4 separate regions of the Homo sapiens genome follow, and regions 1, 2 and 3 are each linked to region 4. Evidence: promoter capture Hi-C in human tissues and cell types (Jung and others, 2019). All regions are on one chromosome and are shown on one strand. The core of a region is centred on a gene start or on the middle of the fragment in contact, and the rest is flanking DNA. Distances in the headings are between cores, read along the strand shown. Region 1 has its middle 19 kb from the start of RBFADN. Region 2 holds the start of RBFADN (RBFA downstream neighbor). Region 3 overlaps TXNL4A (thioredoxin like 4A). Region 4 holds the start of RBFA (ribosome binding factor A).

Region 1 (3,042 bases), core at 159-2,658, 51 kb before region 4:
TACCAACGCTGGCAAGTTTATTATAGAAATTAAATATGGTAATAGAAAAGAAGCTACATTACTTTTACACTGCTCATAAAATTTTTCTACTCTACAGAGCAAATTCAAATTTTGATATGATTGTCTTTACGCTGAGGCTACATTACTATAAATTAGGTCAGAGTAGGAAAGCAGATTAGAAGATTTAAAATGGAATTAAATAGAAACTTTCTCTTTCCTTTATTTTCTTTTTATCCCCTTTGCAGTAATCCTTGTTTATTAGCTCCTAATAAATTATGTAATCTTTCAGATAGTTTATATCTGAACATCTCATCCAAATAGTAAAGTGAAACAAAAACAATGCCTTTTATGCTGACTTTTTCACCTTTTTGTAATAGAGATTTTGTCACATCTTGTTACGCATTCAACTCACAATTATTGAGCATCACTGCTCCTTGTTATAGAGAAGGCAGTCAGTGAGAAGGACAGACAAGAGAATTCATGCTGACAACAAGCAATAGATGTTTATACTGGATCTTCTAGGAGAAGCAGGATGGGGAGGGGAAAAAAAATAGGAAAACTTTTCCTAAAGAAGATGAGACCAGACCTGAATCTTGAAAAAGAAATAGGGTTTTAGACCATCAGACTAGAATAAATGCCTTCAAGGCAAAGGGTTAGCATACGTAAAGACAGGTATGCTGCTGTCTGCGGCTACACACACACATTCCTTAGATTTGCTGGTAGTTCACTTGCATCTCAAAGAAATGTTATTTTTTTCTTCATTTCGTGTGTGCAGAGAAGCTTTGCTGCCTTGTAGTTACACATGAAATGAGTCACCTTTCTCCAGAGCTCTTCGTACTCAATCAGGAAGCACTAGCTAGGCTTAGCTCTGGAATGCTGGATCAGGGATGCTCACCAGAGAACCACTGCAGGCTGGGGCAGGGGAGGTGTCAAATTGGGCATGTGCAGCAGTAGTCCCTTATGAAGCAGAAGTGGTTTATATGAGTTCTGCAAGGATACCAGTGCTCCCTTCATTAATATTTGAGTTAGTCTGTTCTCATATTGCTATAAAGAACTACCTGAAACTGGGTGGTTTATAAAGAAAAAAGGTTTAATTGGCTCACAGTTCCACAGGTTGTACAGGAGGCATGGCTGGGGTTGGGGGCCTCAGGAAAGTTACAATCATGGCAAAAGGCGAAGGGGAAGCAAGCACATCATCACATGACAACAGGAGGAAGAGCAAAGAAGGAAACCCTACACATTTTTAAACAACCAGCTCTCATGAGAACTCACTCACTATCATGAGAACGGCAAGGGGGACATCTGCCCTCATGATCCAGTCACCTCCCACCAGGTCCCTCCCCTAACACTGGGGATTACAATGCAACATGAAATTTGGGTGGGGACACACAGCCAAACCATATCAGTATGTTTCTCCATGCTTTCATAAAGATGGTGCTCAATACTCCCTTAGCAGAACCTAGTGAGAAGATGCTTGAGCAGGACTCACTTGATAAATCAACATCATTTCTATCTCCTTAAGCCTTTAAATTCTTTCCTGTACATTAAATCAAGTGATGGATCTCAACTTCATTTAATGTGGCCACAAACTACTCCAGCTATGTTTTTCTAAAAGAATTCTAATTTGCATGTTTGTAGTCTGTTCTAGAGAGTGAGTGAGGGCCTGACCCGTTGCTTTTCCTAAGCAATGGATGGATGGGAACTTCTACTCCCAGGAGGGGTCCTAAGTGCTCACTGCTCTTTAGAAGCAGTGCTGCCAAGAACAAAGGATGCCAGTGCCAGGTGTATTAGTCCTTTCTCACATTGCTCTAAAGAAATACCTGAGACTGGATAATTTATAAAGAAAATAAGTTTAATTGGCTCATGGTTCTGCAGGCTGTACAGGAAGCACAATGCTGGCATTTGCTTGGCTTCTGGGGAGGCCTCAGAAAACTTACAATCATGGCGGAAGGTGAAGGGGGAGCAGGAACGTCTTACAGAGCAGGAACAAGAGAGAGAGCAAGGGGGAGGTGCTATACACTTTTAAACAACAAGATCTCGTGAGTACTCACCATCATGAGTACAGTGCCGAGGGGATGGTGCTAACCCGTTCATGAGAAATCCACCCCCATGATCCAATCACCTCCCACCAGGCCCCACCTCCAACATTTGGGATTAAAATTCAACAAGAGAGTTGGGCAGAAACACAGATCCAAACCACATCTCCAGGCCCATCAACTAACTAAGCAAACAGTCTTCCCAACTACTCACACTAACACATGGAGTCCAGAATATCTGCCAAGAACACGTGTATCAATAAATTCAGCCCAATCTAGCAGTTTTCCTCCTTCTCCAATACCAATAAAATTCATTTTTACACACTTTACTCATGTTTCTACTGATAACTAGGAAGAATCATTTTTTTTGTTTTTGTTTTTTGAGATAGGGTCTTGCTCTGTCACCCAGGCTGGAGTGCAGTGGCATGATCATGGCTCACTGCAGCCTCGACCTCCTGGGCTCTGGCAATCCTCCTGCCTCAGCCTCCTGAGTAGCTGGAAGCACAGGTGTGCACCACCACACCTGACTAATTTTTAAGTTACATGTAGAGATGGGATCTCCCTTTGTTCCTCTGGCTTGTCTTTAATTTCTGGGCCCAAGCAATCTTCCCCCTCAGCCTTCCAAAGTGCTAGGATTATAGGCATGAGCCAATGCACCTGGCCAGGAAAAAATGTTGTATAAGCCTCTTTCCCCCAGTCAGATTTCGCATTCATCCCCCTTGGTGTGCAGGGATCTGACTGTGGTGATGGGTCTGGAGGCAGCAAGAGGTTTTGGGTTTGCTTTGAGAATGACCTGCTCTTGCAAGCTAATTGCCTCAATGAGAACATTACAAAGTCTTCCACAAGGGGAGGCTGATCCACTCAGGTGGGAAAAGAGCACTGGCTTTCAACAGCAAAAGGAAGATGATGTGGAATTTGAGGTTCCAGTTTCTCATCTGCATCACAATCCACCCAGTGATTCCCGTTCCAATTCTTAGGGCCTGCTCTTTTCCAGTCAGTGTCCTAA
Region 2 (3,120 bases), core at 138-2,637, 34 kb before region 4:
AGTCGATATACGAACAGTCCAAAGTACTCACTGAAAATTATGCGAAGCCATTCTAAAAATATAATGAGTGCAAATCCCATTGTTATTCACATTCTTGAGAAAAATAACTGGTGAACTTCAATGATCAGGTCTTCATCCACCTTGAAAGAGAAAAAGAGAAAGGAATTTACCATGGTATTTACAAATGCCACCCTAACCTAGCATTCAAAATAAAAGAGACAGTCTGGGTGCGGGGACTCACGCCTGTAATCCCAGCACTTTGAGAGGCTGAGGCGGGTGGATTGCTTAAGGCCAGGAATTGAAGATCAGCCTGGGCAACACAGAGAGACCCTGTCTCTAATAAAAACAATAGTTATAAAAATAAAAATGAAAATAAAAGAGGTATGACCAGAATGCTGTTTGCCCCCCTTACAGATTTTTCATTCCATCTACATTTTGCTTTGCAATTTGAGAATAGAAGGATCTGCCCATTTAAGAAAAACATGCCATTCTGATGTTTAAAAGGCTCTGAAAGAAAGAAATTTCCTGTACTGGGCCTATCTAGCTGAGTGGGACACAACTAAGTCCATATTGGGCACCCAGGGAATTCAGCCCTTACTAGATATTCGCTCTTATTAATATTATTATTCCAGACCTGATTCTCTGAAGTTACAGAGTATTCATATTGATTTTAATATTTTAGAATTTTGTTTAAAAGGTTCATCTTCACAATACTGCTCTGGTTACAACCGTGACTTTTCCTCATTCCCATTGTGTTCCCGCAGAGAATAGGGTGCAGGGTAAGTCCCCACAAGGGTATGGCTGGGTCAAAGGGCGAATGTGTTTGGGATTCCAGCAGACACCACGGGCCACTCCCCTAGGGAGGACACCCCACCCGCCAGCAATGCAGAAGGGCATGTCACAACAACGCTGCTTTCAAACATGTTATTTGTCACCTCTCCAATAGCAGAAAAATAACTCCTTTTCCTTTTCTTTCACTGTGTCCCTTTCTGGAGCCCTTGCTAGTTAGGACCACATCCAGTACTTGCACCCTGGGGTTCATGAGCTCCCCGTCCTAACTGAGCCTCATTCTGAGCTGCCAGCAAGGCTACCAAAAATTTCAAGCAGAAGAGAGGATTTCAGTTGGTGCAAACAGGAGCGGCTGCTCATTCCACAGATCCAGGGCAGGGCCATCCCAACAGGCAACAGTGAACTCGAAGGGTAAATCTGACTTGGCCAAGGGCATGGGGATTAGAGCCTAATCCAGTAAGACAGTGGCCACTTCTGTGATCGAGAAGCATCAGGGAGAATGATGCTAATAACTAAGAAAATGAAAGAAAAGCAGGGATTAGAAACTACATTTGCCACATGTAACTTTTATAGTGATGATACGTCCACATTTCAACGTCTCACCCTCATTCTACCGGGAGCCATACTGAGGACAGAGTTCTTGGGAGATAGAATAATATGGTGATATTTTGGAATGGCATATTCTAATGAGGAGGAAAACATTTAAATTTTTGAGTTTTAATTAAATGAATATGTATTTAATAACTAATGCCTAAGGCTGCACACCTGTCAGATCTACTTACTCTCCTCAATATGGAATCTTTTCTTACATTACAAAAACAATACCTTTCTTGAAAAATTCACACTACATAAAAGTATATAAGGCAGCACCTGAACCTCCTCAACGCTACAACCTCCATAATCTCATCCTCAGGGAGGGTTCTGTGCTCCTCCCAGACCTTTGTGTGCAACAAAAACAGCCAAAGCCCAACAGGTACATCTGAGCTGCACCCTCCAGGCCTGTCCGTTTGCCAACGGGCGCATCTGAGCTGGGTCCTCCAGGCCTGTCCATTTGCCAACGGGTGCATCTGAGCTGCGCCCTCCAGGCCTGTCCATTTGCCAACGGGTGCATCTGAGCTGCGCCCTCCAGGCCTGTCCGTTTGCTCTTACCCTTTGGAGACTGCGTTGCCATCCCCAGTTCACAGAGGAATGGACCCCCATCCACCCAGCTTTCACCTCCAGGTAGATTTTGACCCACTTAACTGTAGCATATTTAAGTTGTGCAATAGAAGAAAACAGACAAGCTGTTATATTTCTCTTCCGAGATATCCAGTTTTCTTATTTCCAGATCCTATACTACACTAAGTCAAGAGTTCAAAAAAACAATACAAGGGAAGTATTTCTCATTAAAAGATTATGTTTATATAACAGTCTTTAAATGGTCGACTTTCAGAATTGCAGCAAGAGCAGAACTGGACACCCAACAGGTCTTGTTTGTTCCCACACAGTTACCAAGCTTGAAGGACGGCCCTGGAAGGGGGCTGCCTACCTTGGTGGGCCTCATAATCGGCCTGCAGAATCTTCCAGGCATACTGGTCTGCAGGCCCCTGAGCAGGACCTCTGGGGCCCCCACTCCAGGTCATCGTCTTGCCCTGGCCGCCCTTCTCGGCTCAACTCTCCCCTTCCTGCCATGCTTGCCAGCTCCAGGGGTGGTGTCCTCTGTAGCCCCCAACTCCTCCCATCTCCCCTTTCTCCAGGCCCCAGCCCTTCCACTCCCGGGAACACCTCCTTGTCTTTCACTGGCCACTTTCTGCATGGTGTGGAACCTCTGCAGACGGGCTTCTGCGCCCCACACACTCACCGTGTGCAGCTTCTCCTGCTCCGAGCCCCCAACTGAGTTCTGGGGCAGGAACGTGTGTGCAGCCAGGCCCCAGCACCTCCTCACCCAGGCCTAGGCAGGTGAGCAGCCCCAACAGGCGTCGTGATCCTCAATCACAGCTGCAGCCTTCAGTGCCTACGCCTCTCTGTCTTCTCTCCATTTTCCAAAGCCATAGAGGACCATCAGAAAACATCCAAAAACAAAAAGATCAACTAAAGCTCTCTCCCAACACTGCCCAGCCTTACCTGGGTGCTTTCTTCAAGGCGAAGGTCCTATACCGGCCTCTCCTCCCTCCAGCACCCTCCTCTGCCTGCCTGGAGGGCTCTTAGCCTCACCCTAAATTCACACGCAAAGCTTAGTTCCCTTTGAGCCACCTCGTGTCCTCCCTGCCATCAGCTCTGCATATCTTATCGCCAGGAGCTGCTGAGATTTGTGAATTAATTCATTAAGAAGCTAAGTCCCTGTAGCTGCTC
Region 3 (3,165 bases), core at 666-3,165, 59 kb after region 4:
CATCAACTTCGGTGTCCTTTTTTATATCCAAGAGGAACACCTGAACTACTTTGCTTATAAATACAAGATTATTTTATCAGCTCAAAAATTTCATTATGGAAATTTAATGGGGAAAGAAATCACCATCTGATGCTGTTTTTACTTGTTTAGTTACCATAGAGGTTGGTGAATTAGCTACATGAGCATTAGACCATTCTCCAAAAGTGGAGCCTCCTACTCGGTAAGGAAGGTCAGGTGGGTTGTATAGGGTATGCGTTAGTTTTGTATTCTTTGTAACAAATTAGCACGCATTGAGCAGCTTAAATCACCCCGCTTTTCTGAGCTCACAGTTCTGTAAGTCAGACATCCAGGCAGGGCCCGCTGGATTCCTGCTCAGGGTCTCACAAGGTCTGAACCATGGGCTGGGTGCTTATCTGGAGTGTTTGAGGGGCTTGTTTGGGTTGTGGGCCGAGTCTGGCTCTTCGTGGTGGTGGGTCTGAGATCTGCTTCCTTGCTGCTGTTACCTGAGGCCACTCTGCTGCCAGAGACCCAGTTACCCTCAAAGCCAGCACTGGCATGCCGGCACATTGAGAACTTTTCACACAGGTTCTCTGACCTGAAAAGTTCTGCCTGAGAAAATGCTCTGGTTTTAGAGGACTGTGATAAGATTAGACTTGCCCAAATAATCCAGGATAGTGACCTTGTTTTATTTATTTATTGAGATGGAGTCTCACTCTCACCCAGGGTGGAGTGCAGTGGCACCATCACAGCAAGCTTGAACTCCTGGCTTCGAGCCATCCTCCCGCCTCAGGCTGCCAAAGCGTGAGGCACTGCCGTGGTTCTGGGCGTCGGGATACGCTCCCCTGGACACGCCCTTGGCTTCCTAGGTGCCTCCTGTTAGGTTGAGAAGATCTGTGAGGTGCACCCTGCATTTCTTGTGAACTTTTCATCTTTCCTAGGTTTCAGCAAAGGTTGCGTGGCTGACCCTCATCCTTTTCTCTACTGTGTGTTCAGCAGCCATTTCTGAATTTCAGCCCCTTTGGCCATCCGGAGAGGCTAAAGAATTTATTCCTTTTGTTAACAGTTCTTACACTAATTTGCCTCTTTCCTCTCTTGAAGGCAGCACCTCCGAGACTTTGCTTGGAAGTTTCCGCAGCTAAATATCCCGAGTGTGTTGCTTTTGAGCTCTGACTTCCTATAACTGCGGACCCCGTGTCCCTGTTCCTCGGCCACTCTGTAACGGGGGTCCCCTTTTCTCCGTTTCCCAGTAACACACTCCTCACTTCCTTCCAAGCCCACACCAGGTGTTCCTGAAGTCCATATTTCTGTTAACAGCCTGTTCGAGGCAATAGAGGCCTTTTCTATTTTGCCCCTCAGAATTCTTCAGGTGAGAACAGGGAGGGCCGTCTTAGGTCTCTGCCCCCCACAGCGTGCAGTGGAGGCCAGCCTGGGGCTGGAGATGCTGTGAGGGGCAAGGAGGCTGCAGGCAACAGCCTTGGGTGGCGGGAGCAGCCTACTTAGTGTAGTTTGATATTTTTAGGACTGATGCTGTACTCAGAAAAGGAGATGAAACTTCCTTCTGCTGTTTCTGTGATTTAGAATTTTAAGACAAACGGTACTTTAGTTAACTTATGCACCAAACATATATCTTGAGCCCCCACCAGGTTTGTGGTCTAGTGGTGGAGCCTAATGTCAGATAAGACAGGATTCCCACTCTCATAGGACGTTGTCTGATAGAAACAGCTGAGTAAATTAGCAGGGGGTTCTGAAGAAGTGAAAGGAGGCAGATGTTTATGAGATATAAATACCGAAGAAGTACACCCAGGTCAGATAGGGCTGCAGGGAGGGTGCTACGGGCAGCCCCCAGTCATTGTAGAAGGAGCTTGGTGCATGCTGCATGTAGGGCCTGCCTGCAGCATGGAGAATGAGAGGGCGGCCAGAGGTGGGCTCCAGACCCTGATCAGATTTGCCTCTCCTGAACCAGAGACTTCACGGGGAATACTTTCTACGGAATAGTAGGTGGAAGCCAAATGCATGATCTTGTGGAAGTGAACGTTAAAAAACAGTCTTTAGGTGGGGTATGCCTGCAGCCCAGCCACTCTGCAGGCCGGGGTGGGACTGGAGCTAGGGGTTTGAGTCCGGCCTTAGCAACATAGCTCGCATCTCTAAGAAAAATAATCAGGCCGGCACAGTGGCTCACGTTTGTAATCCCAGCACTTTGGGAGGCCGAGGTGGGAGGATCACTTGAGGCCATGAGTTTGAGACCAGCCTGGCCAACATGGGGACACCCCATCTTTACAAAAAACTAGAAATTTATCTGGGTGTGGTGGCTCGTGCCTGTGGTCCCAGTTACTTAGAGGGCTGAGGTGGGAGGATCATTTGGGCCAGGAGGTTGATTTTGCCACTATGCCCTAGCCTAGATGACAGTGAGACCCCATCTCAAAAAGAAACTTCAACAAACCAGGATAAATTTATGCCAGTACAACAAAGGGTTAATATCCTTATCTTGTAAAGTGCACATGAGTATTCATGAGGAAAAGAACTAGTCTCTTGAAAGATAAGTAAAGAATTATCTACTTCCCTAACCATAAACATGCAAAATGTCATCTTCATTTCATAGTTGAAGGGCTTTTAATACAATTTATGTCATTGCTCATAAGAGCACTGTGAAAAACTTACACATTGCTTTTATCAGGTAAATTAGTACAAATTAGATGGGGGTCTCATTTTGTTATCCATGTTGATCTCGGACTCCGGGCCTCAAGTGATCCTCCTGCCTCAGCCTCCCATAGAGTTGGGATTACAGGCATGAGCCACTGCGCCTGCCCTCCTTTGACCTTTTAATTTCCCCTTAGAATAACTGTCCTAAATAAATACAGAAAAATGCAGGAAAGAGCATGGTGGACAATGCATTGCATCTTTAAAAACACATTTAGCTGCTTCCTGTATTCTCCTGCATCATGGCATACACTCTCGATTTTATGCGTTCTTCAGTGATGTTAACAAGAGCTTGTCACAGTGGGAAAAATACGGCATTGTTTTCAAGGAATTCTTTTTTAAAGAGACTTCTATGAGAATGGATGCCCTTGTTTCTCGTTGCAGGAACAAGCACATCATGATTGACTTGGGGACTGGCAACAACAACAAGATTAACTGGGCCATGGAGGACAAGCAGGAGATGGTGGA
Region 4 (2,781 bases), core at 182-2,681:
AGCTTAGTGAGCTCCTAAGGGCCTGAGCTGGAAACATTCGAACAAAACTAAGTAACACGGGATTATAACCCATGAGTTCTTGGTGATATGAATGAATTAATACATGGGGTGAAGAGACATATCCCTTGTGCAGAATGCAAACCACTTATGAGCAAAATTCCCCACTCATTAGGCATGGGCTGCACACAGCGACTTTCTCCCAGAGTACAGTAAGGAAAGGGGGCAAAAAGAGTAACTTTACGGTAGAGAAACCTGGCAAGCACCTCATGCAGGGGATCACGGCCAGCGTGGACCCTGGATACGGTGCGATGAGAATGGCCTTTACCTCTGTAGTCTTCCTCCCCAAAAGCCATAATCCACGTCTAAGCATTAAAAAAACAGGCACATTCCAACAGAGAGGCATCCTGCAAAGCACCTGACCAGTACCCCTCAAAACTGGCACAGCCATCAAAACCAGGGACAGTCTGGGACACTACCCCAGCCTAAGGAAACAAGACAATTCAATGTAACGTGGACCTTGGGTGGGCACCTGGGACAGGAAGGGACAGCAGGCAGAACCAAGGAAAAGTGAATAAAGTATGAGCTTCAGTTAGCAACACTCTTATCAATATCGGCTCATTAACTGGAACACGTTGGAAGCTAAAGTCCGACGCTAACACAGGGGGAGCTGGGTGCCAGGACACAGGAACGCGGTACTATTTTTGCAATTTTTCTGCAGGGTCTAAAACTGTCTTTAAAAGTAGTGTATTAAAGTAGAAAACATACAACCACCTACCATACTTAGAAGAACTAAAAGCAGTGTGAAAAGTCAATGTATTTTATTGTACTTATCTTTCATAATTTAAAAACACTAATTATCATGACAAGCTTTAGTCTTCAAATTCACACAGAAAGTCAACATTAGCAAGGAAATTCTTATATTTTTTCATTTTTCCTCATTTTCTGAAACTAATCTTCTGAAAAATACGTCTGGTGACAAGAATCAAAATAAACACACATTGTCACTTTGTTTTCTTAACCCGACACACGTCCACGAACACAAAAGCTGCAAATGCTGACAGTGAGAGCTAGAACTGCTGCAGACCCCAGGAGGCAGGAACTGGCGAGCTAGGCCGCATGGGCGCAAGAACGCGGATGAGCGGACACCGCAACCCGGGGACACCGCCCCCTAGGGAATACCGCGCCCAGGGACACCGCCCCCGCCGCATTACTTGGTTTTCGAGGCAAATTTCTTGAGCCAGTTCTTGCAGGAGACAGCAGAGCAGTGAAGTCCCCGCTCGCAGCCTGGAAATAGCGCAGCATCGCGGCTACGGAACAGGGCCCGGAGACCCGCGCGGGAGCGCCACAGCCCGCCCGCCGCAGCCCACATGGCGCGGCGCCGGGACCCGGAGCGAGCAGGGAGACAACGGGCGCAGGCGCGGAGCGACAACTGACGCGAGGGTGGCGGCGTGTGGGCGGGGCGACGGCGCAGAGCGGGAGGAAGACTCACGCCTGGCAGGCGGCGTGTGGGCGGGGCGATGATGCAGGGCGGGGCGATGATGCAGGGCGGGGCGAGGACAGACGCGAAGCTGACGGCGTGTGGGCGGGGCCACGGCGCGGGGCGGGACGAAGACGGGGTGCAAGGCGGGCGGGGCAACGACGGCGGAGGGGCGAAGGCCCGAGGGGGGCGGTAGGTGGGCGGGGCGAGGACAGACGCGAAGCTGACGGCGTGTGGACGGGGCGACGGCGAGGGACGGGGCAAAGACTGGACGCAAGAAGGGGCGGGGCGACAACGGCGGAGGGGCGAAGGCGCGAGGCGAACGGCGAGTGGGCGGGGTGAAGACCGACGCGAAGCGGGCGGTGGTTGGGCGGGGCGAAGACTGACGCGAGGCGGGCGGTGAATGGGCGGGGCGAAGACTGGCGCGAGGTGGGCGGTGGGTGGGCAGGGCGAAGACTGAAGCGAGAAGGGCAGCGCGAGGTGGGCGACTACCAGAGCGAAGCGAGCGGCGTGTAAGCGGGGTGAAGACAACGCCAGGTGGGCAGTGTGCGGGCGGGGGGGGCGGCAACGGGGGCGGGGCGAAGGACGACGCGAGGCGGGGCCGGCGGGAGCTGGGCGTGGGGAGGCCGCGTGGGCTGCGCGGAGGGTGTGCCACTCGGGGAAGCGTGGGAACCGCCTGGTTGCCTGGCGCTGCGTAGCTAGGAACACGTTTTGTTTAAATACTGGGAACTGACGTAGGCGGGTGCGCCGCACAAAGCAACGAAGGCATCGAAGCCTGGAGACCTGGGCAGGGCCGCTGTCGGCGGGAGGCTGCGAGGGGTCCGTCTGTTTCCGCCACTGGGCCCTCCAGGGCTTTGCTGCTGCGCCGCCTTCTCCCCGGGCACCTAGAGAAAGTCCCCAGATTGGGCGTCCTCCCCAGAAGTGGTCTCGCCCCGCCCGCCTCCCCAGAGTCAGCGTGGCCCAGCGGGGAAGCTGCTCCCCCCGGGCGTGGAAAGAGAAGTGAGCGCGACCGCAGTGTTGGGGATGCGTGGGCTGTGACTCCCCCGAGGCGGCTGCTGTGGTGTGAGACACGTCTGTGTGTGTGTGTGTGTGTGGGCGCGTGTGGATGTGTACATGTGTATGTGTGCATATGTACGTGTGTGTGCATGTGTGTGGACATGTATATGTGTGCATGTGCGTGCGCGTATATATGTGTGTGTGTATGCGTATGTATGTGTGTATATATTGTCAATCGAAGAAAACGACGAGACAAGTCTCTAATCATTTTAGGAGATTTATTTGCCAAAGTTAAGGACGCACCCAGG

Evidence for each region. Contacts are between HindIII fragments. The study calls those that stand out against the background at their distance.
Region 1: a fragment that was not itself captured here is called in contact with the fragment with the promoter of RBFA in region 4 in 2 of the 25 tissues and cell types used here (IMR-90 fibroblasts and lymphoblastoid cells).
Region 2: a fragment that was not itself captured here is called in contact with the fragment with the promoter of RBFA in region 4 in 5 of the 25 tissues and cell types used here (dorsolateral prefrontal cortex, mesenchymal stem cells, mesendoderm cells and 2 more).
Region 3: a contact is called between a fragment that was not itself captured here and the fragment with the promoter of RBFA in region 4, in 2 of the 25 tissues and cell types used here (adrenal gland and dorsolateral prefrontal cortex).

Annotation. Positions count from the first base shown.
Region 1 is chr18:80,084,293-80,087,334 of GRCh38, reverse strand. No RefSeq gene overlaps it. Among named protein-coding and RNA genes, the nearest start is that of RBFADN, 19 kb to the right of the region's middle. The HindIII fragment of the contact is 9,158 bases long and covers 1-3,042 here.
Region 2 is chr18:80,066,818-80,069,937 of GRCh38, reverse strand. RBFADN (RBFA downstream neighbor) reads right to left here and starts at 2,682. Exons shown (of 4, transcript NR_103445.2): 1 at 2,630-2,682; 2 at 32-140. The HindIII fragment of the contact is 4,600 bases long and covers 1-3,120 here.
Region 3 is chr18:79,973,773-79,976,937 of GRCh38, reverse strand. It overlaps TXNL4A (thioredoxin like 4A), which reads left to right. Exons shown (of 3, transcript NM_006701.5): 3 at 3,082-3,165. Among named protein-coding and RNA genes, the nearest start is that of HSBP1L1, 11 kb to the right of the region's middle. The HindIII fragment of the contact is 3,685 bases long and covers 73-3,165 here.
Region 4 is chr18:80,033,084-80,035,864 of GRCh38, reverse strand. RBFA (ribosome binding factor A) reads right to left here and starts at 1,431. Exons shown (of 7, transcript NM_024805.3): 1 at 1,212-1,431. The coding sequence starts at 1,369. It also overlaps a transcript of TXNL4A not described here. RefSeq lists silencers at 1,236-1,385, 1,496-1,575, 1,586-1,905, 1,788-1,944, 1,976-2,145. The HindIII fragment of the contact is 12,317 bases long and covers 1-2,781 here.